Regions from separate parts of the Homo sapiens genome. Here all the other regions are linked to region 1. Evidence: promoter capture Hi-C in 16 types of primary human blood cells and fetal thymus (Javierre and others, 2016). All regions are on one chromosome and are shown on one strand. The core of a region is centred on a gene start or on the middle of the fragment in contact, and the rest is flanking DNA. Distances in the headings are between cores, read along the strand shown.

Region 1 (4,784 bases), core at 729-3,228:
AACACTGCTAGTATCTTAAGGATTCCTGAAAGTATTTATGTTGGTAAGTTTGATGAGCAAACATTTCTAAATTTGAAAATGGATAAAACAAAAAGCACAGTGAAATCTTGAAAGAATTCTAATACTAATGTCACACATAAGAATACAGATTTAAAATTAATGAACTAAAACGGATATACGTAATTTCTCCAGGAGGAATTAAGATCCTCCTTGATCTCAGTAAAGCAATGAATAGTCATTCTGACATCTAGCTAAAAGCAGACTTATTTCCCTTCGGTCTTTAATCTTTTTGGAACTCAGGGATTTCCGCCACACTTTGATACACCAGGCCATTATAAAATTACACTTAATTTATTGTCAATTTCTACTTAAAAGGAAGAATACCTATAAGTATCTCCATATGCTAGATATAGTAGAAATGGTATGCTTTAATTAGTCCAACAATAAAGTCCTTAAAGATTTACATTCTTTGTTGCCTATTTTGAAAACTTGCGAAGATAAATTTTTTTAAAGATTATAATTCTTACTAGTCCTTTCCATGAAATATAACAGCAAATAGTTTCCAAATGTGGATGTGTAATGAGAGGAAATGAAAAGTGAGTAAAGAGCTGAGTTAAAACATCTTAAAATCGAATATGGCTTAATACTATCATTATCATCAGTTGTCCTGGAATAACTTAAATTCTTCTAGCTTATTGTTGGTTTTTCAATGGTTGGTTATAGTTGTGAGGCGGATACACACACACACCCACACACTTGGCTATACAAAAAAGATGTTCCGAGACTGACAGTTAAAAATTACACTGCTGGCCGAGCACTGTGGCTCATGCCTGTAGTCCCAAAACTTTGGGAGGCCGAGGTGGGAGGATCACTTGAGGCCAGGAGCTCGAGACCAGCCTGGGCCTAACATAGCAAGACACCATTTCTAAGTTTAAAAATAAAAATAAATTTAAAAAAGATACACTGCTATGTACGACTGTTGATATAAAAAATCTGAATACTAGACATGGGTACTCATCTAGTACTTCAAGGGCTTATCAACAAAGTTGCAAGTTGTAACACTATGAATTGTTAGTGATACTCTTTTGGCTTTGCTAGCAAGTGTTGTAAAGCTATACACACACACACACACACACACACACATACACACACACACCTTTTAAAATGGTGACCCTGGTACCAAATATGACTTTAAATGGATTTAATTTTAATGGCTTTAACTACGTTCAGCTGTCATATGGATCAAAATTAGCCTCTATCCAGCTGGGGTCAACCAGGGAGCCACTTTTCTTAACCGACGACCTACTGAACGTCAACAACTGCAGGAGACGGGACTTTACCTTCGTCTCTGGTAAACTAGTTGACACATCCTGTGTTGGCAAGAGGCCTAAGTAGATGACCTTGGTCCTCTAAAATCTGGCCTGCACTCTCGGGGCACCCCTGCAACATCTACAAAGGCAGCTCCAGATAGAAAAGGGTTGGGGTCGAAAAGCCAATAACGGCAGGCACCTGCCCCGCCTCGGGGCTGGGGGGCTATTCCAGCGGCTTCAGCTAACTTTCAGAGCCATTCGTTTCCCAACAAAGTCTGAGGCGTTCCTCTGCTGGGTACACCAAGGGGCTCTGCAACCCTCCTGGGGGGGGGGGTGCCCAGAGGGCTTCCGGAAGTCCCAGGTTTATTCTTTCGGGTCACAGACAGCAGAAACTAAAAAGAGGGATTACCCTTTCTGTCCAGTCGCAAGATGGCGACCGAGCCTGGTGGGACTCCGAGGGGCCGCAGGCCACCTCCTCTTCCCAATGGCCCGTGCGCCGGCGGCGACGGCAAGCGGGAGGGAGGCGGGGCCGGCGAAGGAAGGAGGGGCGGAGCGCGGCGCCCTCCCGCGCGTCTTGGCCCCGCCCCACGTCCCCGCGTCCCGGCCTGGAGCCCTCGCCCGGCCGGGCGGCGCGCGCTGCCTGCCGGGATACTCGGCCCGCCCAGCCAGTCCTCCCGTCTTGCGCCGCGGCCGCGAGATCCGTGTGTCTCCCAAGATGGTGGCGCTGGGCTCGGGGTGACTACAGGAGACGACGGGGCCTTTTCCCTTCGCCAGGACCCGACACACCAGGCTTCGCTCGCTCGCGCACCCCTCCGCCGCGTAGCCATCCGCCAGCGCGGGCGCCCGCCATCCGCCGCCTACTTACGCTTCACCTCTGCCGACCCGGCGCGCTCGGCTGCGGGCGGCGGCGCCTCCTTCGGCTCCTCCTCGGAATAGCTCGCGGCCTGTAGCCCCTGGCAGGAGGGCCCCTCAGCCCCCCGGTGTGGACAGGCAGCGGCGGCTGGCGACGAACGCCGGGATTTCGGCGGCCCCGGCGCTCCCTTTCCCGGCCTCGTTTTCCGGATAAGGAAGCGCGGGTCCCGCATGAGCCCCGGCGGTGGCGGCAGCGAAAGAGAACGAGGCGGTGGCGGGCGGAGGCGGCGGGCGAGGGCGACTACGACCAGTGAGGCGGCCGCCGCAGCCCAGGCGCGGGGGCGACGACAGGTCAGTGTTGCCGCGGCCTGCGCCAGGCGGCGCTGGCTCCCCTCCGTCACTCGGCCGGCCTTCGGGGCCCGCTGTGGCGAGGTCGACACCCCCCTTCCCCGCCCCCCGCCGCCGAGGCGAGTGTTTGGGGGCGCGTGGTCCGAAGGGGCTGGTGCCAGAAGTAGGCCCCTGGTGGCCGCGGCTGCTGCAGCCGTAACTGTCAGTCCTGGCTGAGCGACGGCGGGAGGGTTTTGTCGCCCGAGGGGACGCGAGCGGGCCCGGGGCGGGGCGGGACGTGCGAGGCGTCGAGATTTGGGCCTCCTAGGAGCCAGGCTCTTCGAGCCAGCCGGGGCCCCAGACAGGGAAGGGCAGGCCCTTTCCTTCAAAGGGGAGCCCTTTCTCGGCGTTTTCAAGGTTTTTGGCTCTCTTGGGGAAGACATATTTAGCCGTGTGCTTGGTGGGTTGGGGTTTTGGGGGTGGATTGATGGGAAGGGAGGGCGGATGAAGTGGTATGTCAAGCCCAAGGGTTGTGCGCACAGGTTACTCTGTGTTACCGGCCACCAGGATTTCTGAAGTTGAACGTGAGTTATTGGCTTTGCCAGAGACTGCTGTGTTATATGCAGACCTGTATGCAAGCAGTTGGCCTTTTTTCCCCCCCCTTTTCAGTGTAGAAAATGAAAAGGATGCTTTCCTCATCTTGGTGGTAAAGGCTTTTGTTGGTAAAGGTAGAATTGAATGTACCAAATGCCTTAGTCCGTAAAATTTTAGAAATAATTTTAATACAGACACTGGTGAAGCTTGGCAACCTTGAAAGAGAATTTAGCGTCTACATTTTTTAAATGACTTTTTATGGATATGCTAAATTAGTAACAGTCCAAAATCTGTTTGAGATTATTAAGTGGCGAGGGTGCTGTTGAAAATGTAAACTAATAGCATATGGGGTTTACAGTGCACAGTTAACCTCAATCATGAAGAAATGTGGATATGACCCGTAATTTTGGATCATTTTACTGCCTGCAATATTGAGAGAAGCAGCAAATTATTACAGTTTTTTTTGGGAGACGACCTAAAGTTTAAGAAATACAACTGTTGAAAGTTACCTGTCAGAGACACAAAGGTACCCAATCAATCTTGTTGAATAAATTGGACAAGTGGGATAAGGTGTTTGTCTCACACTTCTGATCAATAAGTACTCTTACTTAAGAAGTGATTTGGTAAATCATGTAAAATTTAGAATTTAGGAGAGATAAGAAAGTTGTAACTTGGTGTGTATAGTGGAAATAGCTTTGAAATTAGATCCTGTTTTTAAATCCAAGCTACTTACCACATTTTTAGTGAAATGAATACATTATTAATGATGCTACTGATAAGCCCTAAGGATGACCAGAAGCCCTTTTAAGAAACACTAATACAGTTGACCAAAAAATAAAAAAGGAAATAGCTTCAAGAAATAATTTTCAATCTTTGTGTATTTATAATATACACAGGAGAAATAAAAGAACAGAATATGAAGAGGTAACTTATAATCTTTACAAAATTAGAATGTAAACTATGCTAGTCTTACTGTGTCAATATTTATTAACCTGCATTAGTTTGCTAAGTAGTATGCTCACTATCCTCTGGACATTGCCCCTGTCCCTGAGGAGCTTAACTTTATACAGAGATACAAAATACTGTGTTTTGATTTCCTTTCAGAGGATTTATAAGCTACTTATGTTTTATCTGTCCTAAATTCTGCCCTTTTTTTTCCCATGGCTGAAAAAATAACTTCCTAAGAAAGGTACATACTAGTCAGAGGTGTGGGGAAAACGTGTTCTCATCCCACTTGTGCAGTCCATTTAACAGGATTTATTGGGTACCTACAGTGTCTTTGACATGTAACATTTAATCAGTTGTATTTCTTAAACTTTAGATAATTTCTATTTCGATCATTTCTATTTCAATCTCCTCCCTCTCCCCTCCAAAAAAATTTACTGTGTAAACTGTGATAATACACTGTTTCTCTCAGTGTCAGTCAGTGGAATGATCCAGATTTATAGGTCATAGCAAAATTTTTCATCCCAAGCTCTTGAAATGATGTTTCCAAATGTCCATTTTCTTAAATGACTGCTAGTTATGTTCTCCAATCATGTTACACATATTTTGTTTAGACTTATAATTGTGTAGGTCTAAATGTAGAAACATTACATTATGTACATATGCAGCTGCTGAAAGAAAATTAGTTTTCTAATTTTTAGATCGGGGTGAAGACAAACTTTTAGAAGTGATCTTTCGGTAAAATACTGGATGAAG
Region 2 (4,784 bases), core at 738-3,237, 660 kb before region 1:
TGGTATTTTGTGGGTGGCACAGCAAACTTGTTTTTGTCTGTGCTTAAATAAAATTATGAAATGGGCTTATTTTGTCTCACTGTATCATGGCCTCAGAGTAACCTTGTCTGAAGTTGGTGTTTGCAGGATTGAGTGTGTGCACAAGGAGAACAGGATGGTCTAGTTGGGAATACCAGGCCAGCTTTTCAGACATCAGGCCTGTTTAGTTTGGTCTGTTTTTTTTCTTTCTCAAAAAGTAAAGTTTGGGGGAAAATAGATATAAGCAAAGAATTAGCATTAACTAAGCATACTATGGGATGGGAAGTGAATTGCAACAACGTGTACAAGGTAGACTGGTGGTGTTAAATCAAGTTTAGCCCAAAGCTGTCTCCTTACATATTTTAAGTTCAGTCTAAAAGTTTCTCTGTACATCGTGAACTGTAACGGGTGGAGGTGTAAACAGACGGCAGCCTACACTTGTGCCAATCACTGAGTTTTGGCCAATCAAATGTAGGCAACTGTTTAAACCATGTTCAAATAAGGCAAACGGCAAGCTGTACCCATTCCAGCTGTTTCTGTACCTCACTTCCATTTTCCTTATGTTACTCTCCTTTTTCTGTCCATAAATCATCTTCTACTACGTGGCTGCGCTGGAGTCTCTGAGTCTACTCCGACTCAGGAGGCTGCTCGATTCGCGAATCATTCATTGCTCAATTAAACTTTAATTTGGCTGAAGTTTTTCTTTTATCAGATGGCGTCAGAACAGATCGAGGTAGAGCTTCTAGCGACCCCCGTGAGCACTGAGTGACCAAGCGAGGGACCCGCCGGGCTCCTTGTGCCCGTTGCTCTCTCAGGGCAGCAGGGGGCGGTGGTAAGATCTCGCTCAGATTCCAAAGCTCCATGGATTTGTATTTTGAGCTCTCCGAGTTTCTTTGAGCAAATTTCTGATGTAAACTTGGTTTGGAAGTCGTGACAGAAACTGCACTGCGTGCGTAATTGGGTTGGATGCAGTAATTAACTGACTTAGAGGCCTCTTACATCTGACTGGGGCAGAAAAACAAATGGTGGTAAATGGCAATATTGCAGGGAGTGTAAATTTGGCTTTTTGGAATTCGCAGGGATTTTTGTGTTCTACTCCTTTGTGTCATTTTTCTTGAGTGCTTAGATAGGAAAAATCATTGGCAAAGCTGATAAAGGGTACCTGAGAGAAAGCCAATATTTTAGGTGAAAATGGGATCCTTAATTTCTGAAGAACTGAGTTCCTTCTGGCTTATACATGCATAAGTATTAGGCCCCAGAAGCCACAAAGTCTGACAGAAATGGTGAAATCTTACTAAACATAACTTATAGTGGAATGTTCCAAATGAACAACACTGCACTGAAGTGCGTTTGAAAATGAGGGCTCCCAAATTAGTCTCATCTAGAGATGCCTATTGATAGGCAGAAGCTTCTAAATGGATTTCAGTATTTTTATTTAAAGACTTTATGAAAGTCAAATAAAAAGCTTAAGTCAAATAAAAGCTTTGATTAAAAAAAATTAAATCTGCTAACTTTTGGCTTAGTTGTGATCTCGAGCCAAAGGAAATAGGCTGTAGCACCAACTGGCTGACTCTGGGAAAGTAGTGGGGTACATTTTACCGGGGTAAAAGATAGGAATGGGTTAGAGGCTCTCCCTTCAGTAAAGTCCCTCTCGGTTAAAAATGGATTTGATACTATGGGATGTTAACTGCTATTTTATTGGGATTAATCTGCCTTCTACTTTTTCCTGATGGCTGTGGGGGACAGGATTAGGCATGTACAGGCTCACTGGACATGGGGAGCTTTTTCCTTCCCAAAGGGGAAAACTTGAGAGCTGATGGGACTGCTGGAAAAGATCCCTTCATGACCGACGAGTGGCCGCCTGAACTTCTGATTCAGTATCACTGCAATGGGTGGGTCTTTCTCTGGGTTCCCTGAGTTCCTCACCTTCCCCACCCTGCTGCAGGCAATTCTTCTGTCTTTCTCTGTCTCTCTGCAAACCAGTTGTTAGAATGGTTAAAAATCACTCTCTCTTGCAAAGTTTTAATTAACGGGCAAAAGTATTCGTGAGGCCAGTCTTAAGCTGTAGCGAATCTGGTATACCTTGTGCTATGAATTTGTCTTTCTGTGTCATTCTGTCATGAAGAGGGGAACCTTAGGATAGAACGCAGGCTTAGGACCTTGTCCTTTCACAGTGGTGGCCCAGGTTCAGGATTCAATTCTGGCCCAAGAGAATGAGTCCTTTCTGGTTTGATGTCTGTGTAACTTTGGCCATTTGTTGATCTTCTTCCCCTCCATGGACAATTTCTAGCTTCCCTTGTAGAATCTTCCTTTCTCTGATCCACCTTTGGAGAGTCTAGATTTTTTAAAAACTGCTAACCACCTCTTTGAAAATACCTCATACAGTCGTGGTTAAGTCAGAACCTTAATTGAGGCTTACTGGTTTTGCCTGTGAGGTTAGTTTTGATAAAGCTTAAAAGCCAGAAATATTCACCATTTGGCCTGGCTAAAGTAGGGTAATAAGAAATTTTAAAAAGCGCTATGGTTAAAAGTCAGCTTAATTAAAAGCAGATATCTAAGCCACGCATATATTTAAAGGGTCTTTATGATTTTTTCTCTTCTTGAATCTTCTTTTCTGGAGAAAAAAGGTTTTTTTCCTTCTCAGTTGGCTGAATAGCTTTTCTCCATTTTGTCTTGCCACTCTTGATGCACACAAGAGAGGATCTAAGAGAACTTCTTCTAACAGCTTGGGACTCCTTGGGGAAAATGGAGGAGGTGCCATAGATCCTGCTTTGGGAAAAACCTGTTTTCCTCGTGAAACCCCAGGAATTGAAAGTAGATAGATCCCTCTCAAAATCTATGGCTAAATATAATTTTAGGGATGGCTAATGGTAACTATGGGGGACACACAGCTTTTTGCACATTTGGATCAGAAAAGCATGCTCACGGCCAGCTAGAAAGTATGGAAATGCCCCCACCCCGGCTGAGAGATAAGACTCCCCTGGGGGATGGGCTGATCACAGAATGGACTGATCAGCTTTGGGTTACTTTGCAATCAAATGCACAGGAAAATGATTGCACTGTCTTGTTCCACAGCATTTCTCTTTTGGGGATCCAGGAGTCAGTATGATAATAGAACCCTGTATTTTGGGGGATCTGTTTTGCCTTCCAGCTGTGCCTGTTTATTAGACCCTAAAAAATAACTGCGTGTTTTCCTAGCCCTGTTCCTCCAAGGACTCCACCATGAAGCCAGTAATCCAATTAAGAAACTTTAAAACTGGCAAATGAAAAATCTTACAACTGCTGGATCTTCTTCTGTCTTTCTGTGTATTTATATTATTGCACATGTGATGTTTATATATGAAAGAGCTCTGATTAATTGGCTTAAAAATAATAAGTGCTTAAATCAAATATTTTGTCAGAAAAGTAAAAAATGTAATGCTTTTTAGTTCACATGACTTCAGTAATCTTTGGGAAATAGAAACAGCTATAAAGGTTATTGGTAAAATAAAGACATTTGGTCTAAATTAGGCAAGTCAGATATTAGGTTTACTAAATACTTTAAGGTCATAAACTGCTTTGACTTTTGAAAAGTGTTCGACTGAACTGCTTCAGAGCTATTAGATTCTAAATAAGGCCTGGGGACAAGTGGAGTTACCCATGCCCCTGGCTATGCTGGAAAGAGTCAGACTTTATCTGCACTTCTGTCTGGTGTTCTAGGTTCCAGACTTGGTACATAATCAGAATCGCTCACTTACCAGGTTTTTCACCAAAAATAAAACTTGCTAAGTGAGGCTGGGTGCGGTGGCTCACGCCTATAATCCCAGCACTTTGGGAGGCTGAGGCTGGCAGATCACCTGAGGTCAGGAGTTTGAGACCAGCCTGGCCAACACAGAGAAACCCCGTCTCTACTAAAAATACAAAACTTAGCCAGGAGTGGTGTGAGTGCCTGTAATCCCAGCTGCTCGAAAGGCTGAGGCAGGAGAACCACTTGAACCTGGGAGGTGGAGGTTGCAGTGAGCCAAGATCATGTGACTGCACTCCAGTCTGGGTAACAGAGCAAGACTCCATCTCCAAAAAAATAATTAAAAAAAAAAAAAAAAGTTGCTGAGTGTTAACATTGTAACATATAATTGAGACTACTGAAGGAACAGTTTTACATGCAGGGGGTATAAAGAAAGTGAAATGTGTTTTTAGTAAAAGATCATAAGAAGTCATGGGAATGTGGATATTTTTGCCTAGATTAAAGGGTTAAAGAATTGTTTTAGGTTAGATAAGGATAAAGCTGAAGGTTTAAGCAAGTTGTGGAAGGTTTGTGAAAAGTTAATCTTGTAAAAGTAACTCTGTGTGTGAACTTACTGAGTAAAGTTAAAGGGGTTTTATTCAGTTTTTCCATAAGTTACATATTGGAATAAAAGCTCAACAGGGTTTTCTTAGAGCACTGATCTGCTCTTTAACAAAAATTTGTAAAGGGTTATAAAGGGTTTATGAGAATCTCACCTTATGATCAAACTGATTAAGATTAAATAGATTTGTCTATAAGGTTTTATTAAAGATTGGGGTTGACATTAATAGTATCCTAATTCAAGGGTGAAACTTGGCTTTTTCTCTTCAACAAGATTTTCATGTAACAATAACGAAATTGTTTCATATAAACAATTGTTTCATGTAAACAATTCGTAAAAACGAATTGTTTCATGTAAACAATAACGAAAGATTTTACTTTGCCTTTTGAATAAACTACTGAATAAAGAAGGGAAAAACAAGAGACAGATGGTTTGGAAAGC
Region 3 (4,784 bases), core at 1,204-3,703, 630 kb before region 1:
CTCAGTGAACATGTTCTGTTCTCTCAGTTTAATATACCCAGAGATGATTATCAATTACAATGGAGCTAAATGTTCACAGTAATGCTTATTGTAGGTAAGACCAAGAGCTCATCCAAGAAGCATGGAATGACTGTATTCTAATTGTTCAGCACTATCAGTATGTGAACAGCCCAAAGAAATGACCCAATTCTTACTCTCCAGGATGTTTTTGCAAAGTGTAGTTATTAGAGGAAAGAAAAGTTAAAATATTAATAATGCATACATTCATTTTGTATTTCACCCACACCCACGTAGGAAAACCTAAAAGAATCAGTTGTCTTCATTTTTACTCATATTTAGTATGTTATCAATCATGGTGTTCCCCTGAGTGGATCTTCTAAAGGGCTCCCTGCAATTTCCTCCTCCTCTTTCTCACTATCATGGCCTCAGTTCTGCTTCCAAAACATCCCACCTACACAGTCGTCAGCCTTCTGGATGTCTTCAACATTCAGGGAGAATTTGGGTTGGAAGGGGGTCATGTGGCAGCCCCTGACGCATCCTCTCTGATTTTCCACTGCTGTGTCTACGAAGACTCCTTAAACAGAAACATCATGGCCAGAAACTATGACTCTTTCCAGCATGCGCTTTTATCTCTGATGACTACACTCCAAGCATCCTCCAAGCATGATCAACAGGCTGGGTGATGCCACCAGAGATGGAGTCTGTACCCCTCCAGCAGGTATTGAGATGACAGTCACAGGGTGATTGGCTCTCCTCTGCCCCCTGTCTTCTCTCCTCTCCACCTCTCTGTGCCTCCTTCCCTCAGCCACCACTTCCATTTAAATTAAAGACACATGACCTACAATGGAGCAGCCGTCTCTCAACAGCAGGGCAGGACTGCACGAGAGGGAGACATCACCCTCTGGAGGGGGCATGATCAAAGTGACTGGTGGTATTTTCAGGTACACTTGCCTGGATCTTCCAATGTTTTCATAATCTATCAGCATTTAATATTATTCTGTTTTAGCACTTGCCCTCATTTTATCTATTGCTATCTTGAACAAGTCTGAATTTGTCTGATTTTGTTGTAAACATTGTACAGATTATGTTATCAACTATTTTTAAATGTTCTTAGGGAGAGAACAAAATGTAAAACAAAAAATGTTAATGAAAATCTCTGAACAGCAGTTACGGATGACTTTCCAGTTCTTCTCTATACTTGTCTGTATTTCTGAATGCTGTTCAATGAACAAGTATCATTTTCTAGACTCAGAAAAGGCTATGCTAACAAATTAGTGTATAGCTCTTCATCTTATGAGGTGTCAGGGCAAGAGTGGGGTGGGAATGTGAGAATGGTATCCACGTAGAGGGTGGGCCATCATGGGGTTTGGTGAAGGGAGTTTCCTCTTGGAGGAGTGGCCAAGCCTGGAGCATAGAGATCAAGCAGCATTAGGAAGGCAGTTATGCCTGGGAGGGAGAAAATGGTGGCAGAGATGGAAGACTGATCAATAGTGGAGGATTGAACAAATCAGTACATATATAAGGATAATGGGAAATAGGTTTCTTACTCTTAGAGAAGAGAGTTACAAATATGAGAAAGGGAAAAACTATAAAGAACACTGTGGATTTGGATTGGTATTGGAAGTATTGGTGTGAACTCCTGGTTTTTAATATGGATAAATAAAAAGATGATGGATAGATGATAGAGAGATAGTCTAATGATAGAGAGATAAATAATAGATGATAGATAATAGATGATATAGACTGATAGATGATAGACAGAGAAATTAATAAAGATGTACATGTGTATGTACATACATTTGTTCCCTAGCTCTGTCCCCTGAGAGAGCTTGAGAACATTAGCACCCTAGTACCAGTGAGCACAGCTAGTGCCCATGTGTAGTGAAAAATTTAGCCCTGCCCAAAGAAAAGTTCTGATCTTTGTCCCCCAGCTTCTGAGAGGCAATCTCTGGATCCCTGGAATATGATGCCTGATAAGATTGTGTCTGTTTTCCTGGGGTCCTTGGATCATACTGGATAGCCTAGCAATGTGATTTAGGGCAGGCACTGACCACATCCATAATACTCAACGTAGGGCTGGCCATCCTAGAAAGAACAACAATGTGGCTTAGGGTGAGAGCTTTTGGTCAAACAATATTAATCTATTTGGAGACTGAAATTAGCCATATGGGCAATGAATAATCGATCATGCCTACTTCAAGCTCCCATAGAAACTGTGGACACTGAGGCTCAGGTGAGCTTCCCTTGTGGGCACTACTCCTGAGTATTGTCTACACAGATACCAGTTCAGCAACATATCCTGATTGCATGAAAAGAGGAAAGTAGGAGCCCTGTAAGAATAGCTATGCTGCTGTGAAAAAAACTGTATTAGAGTGTGTTAACACTATTCCTGGTGTGAGACAATTCATGTTTCTTCCTCTGTTTCTACTACTTATATTTTCTAAATGTTCATAGTAAGCATGTGTTAATTTCAGAGTCTGAAATACACGCATGGAAGAACTAGAGGTTTCCCATTAGCTGCAGAGTCAAGCCCTCCTGGGAGGCACATGGCCCCATGAACTACATGCTTACAGCTCCCCAGCCCCTGCTTGTCCTGCTTCTCTGCACACACCTGCTTTATAGCCATGCTTCATGTCTCAGATTCAACGATATCCTGTTCTGGTTTGTGACTCTTTGCTCTAAAACAATCTCCTCTCTTTTCTGCCTAGTTAACACTTGCTTCTTAAGCTCCCATTCACATTTCATTTTCTCCTGGAAAATTGTCCCAAAGCCCCCAATTCTGAGAGTTCTCTATCCTCCCATATTCTACCGTACATATACCTCTGTTATAGCGTGTTTCCCCTGACGTCTTGTGGTACTGATTGCTCATGCTGACCTCTAGATGTCAAAACTTTGGAAGCGGTTACTAGATCTTACTGTCTTTGTGTTACCCACACCTACCCAGTCATCGACACAAGGCCAGTCCCTAAAGTGTTGATGAGTGATGGATGAATTAACTGACATAATTATAATTCAGTGAAACTCAGCTAAAATCACCTAGATAGGCAGATTTTGCTTCGTTTATTCATTCCTTCATTTACAAAAATGTAGTGAGCCCCTTTTATGTGCCATGAAATGAGTTAAGAGAAAAGATATTTTCTTTGCCTCCAGGAGCTCACAGTCTAAAAGGCGAGATGAGCTATTAACCATTAACATAGGACATGGCGAGTGTGTACAAAGACAGAAGCGTGGGGCGATGGTATCACATAGGAGCACACCTAACCCATCCCGGAGGTGGGGGATTGAAGCACCCAAAGCCAGCGCATGGAAGCCCATAGAAGCCAGGCCTGGAGTGGATGGTGTGAATGCAGGGCCTTGGGAGGCCTGGGTCTTCACCTCAGCTTCCTGTGCGGTGGACATGTCATCTCCTTATATTGTCCGAATTTCCACAACTATAGAAAGAGTCTGTGTCTCTTCTTTTCCATGCATATCAAAAGTAATTGTCTGCTGTCTCCTCTAGACATTGCCAGCGCGTTTTCATATCTGTACATACCTGGGTAGGGGGGCTACTGGGCCTCCTGACATGAGGTGTTAAGAACCAGAGAATCTCCTGCTGAAATAAATAGGTTACCAAAGGAAAAAAAAAAAAAATATATATATATATATATAATATATATATTCATCCTACATAGCAGACATTAAAACACTTAACAAAACCCACCAGCAATAAAAACGATGTATTAAGATTTTTTAAGCCAGTGGTATTTTTGATGTTACATGACAGCCTTCCTTTGTGGTGACTGCTGTATTTTTTAGCCTTGCTTTGATCACGGCTGCTGGAGACAGCTGTTTCTATGCTCCCCGAAAGCATGTGGCACCGACATTCGTCATGTGGTTCTGGATAGCCGCCATCCGTCATCTCCTCTCCCAGTGAGTTTCACTCTCCCATCACTCTCTGCATTCTCTGATCAGTTATCCCAGTGTGGGAAAAACAAATCTGCAAGCCAGCCTCCTGATTTACCACATTAATCTATTATTCAATAATAACGTTCCTTACAGAGCTGCATTAATTAAAAGCAAGCACCACAAGAAAACTGTCACTTCGAGTGTCATTTGTCACAACAACCTGATGTTCTTTTCTTTCTGTCATTTTTAGAACTTTGGTTGCCATGGTAACCCATAGCAGCTTTTATATATAGCATCACTTATACTCAGTTAGTTTATTTTATTTCATTTTTTTGGTACCATCAAGAAGACAAGCTGTTTTTTTCCTCCTTTTAACAGAGCTTATAATGTGGTGGAATAATCAGGCCTAATGACAGGTTAATCCACAAAGGAATATTACATGTTAAATGAAAAATTATTATTCTACATCTGTATATTAAAATTCACTGTTTAAAAAATACTCTCTAAGAAGAAGCAAGTCCAGGTTTAGTCTCCTAGGTACTGGCTCATTAGAAGTTCGTAGCCCTAGGATGCAATTAGTATCCTATAAAATAGCAGACAAGCAAAACAACTGCAGATTCAAGGGAAATCCAGGTATGCATAACAAGCAATACTCAGCTTCGAGCTGGCTTCTTTGCCTCTCTGGGGTTGTGGGGCTCGCTGACCCTGCCCAGGCTTCTTCTGGGGCGCTCAGTTCTTGCTACCCACCCACCAAGAGCCAACTCCAACGTGTGCTGAGAGCAAAGCCTTCCTGGAGCTGGTAGTCAGAAAAAGTGGTCTTCAGCAGGGTACAGATAGCCTTCTAGAAGAGTCCACACTACTTGCCAAGCAGGGAGAGACTGAGTGGGAAGCAGCACAGG

The links. The method cuts DNA at HindIII sites, captures the fragments that hold promoters and counts their contacts. A CHiCAGO score of 5 or more calls a contact.
Region 2: a contact is called between a fragment that was not itself captured here and the fragment with the promoter of UBE3A in region 1, in 9 of 17 cell types (total CD4 T cells, naive CD8 T cells, naive CD4 T cells and 6 more). The highest score is 9.2, in total CD4 T cells.
Region 3: a fragment that was not itself captured here is called in contact with the fragment with the promoter of UBE3A in region 1 in 7 of 17 cell types (naive CD8 T cells, total CD4 T cells, activated CD4 T cells and 4 more); the score reaches 9.0 in naive CD8 T cells.

The regions. Positions count from the first base shown.
Region 1 is chr15:25,436,218-25,441,001 of GRCh38, reverse strand. UBE3A (ubiquitin protein ligase E3A) reads left to right here and starts at 1,978. Exons shown (of 13, transcript NM_130839.5): 1 at 1,978-2,513. RefSeq lists enhancers at 971-1,916, 1,917-2,862 and silencers at 1,714-2,053, 2,414-2,833. The HindIII fragment of the contact is 4,364 bases long and covers 1-3,291 here.
Region 2 is chr15:26,091,950-26,096,733 of GRCh38, reverse strand. All of the region lies in intron 5 of LOC105370739 (a long non-coding RNA gene), which reads left to right. Among named protein-coding and RNA genes, the nearest start is that of TRE-TTC2-2, 12 kb to the right of the region's middle. The HindIII fragment of the contact is 969 bases long and covers 1,503-2,471 here.
Region 3 is chr15:26,069,522-26,074,305 of GRCh38, reverse strand. No RefSeq gene overlaps it. Among named protein-coding and RNA genes, the nearest start is that of TRE-TTC2-2, 10 kb to the left of the region's middle. The HindIII fragment of the contact is 6,546 bases long and covers 1-4,784 here.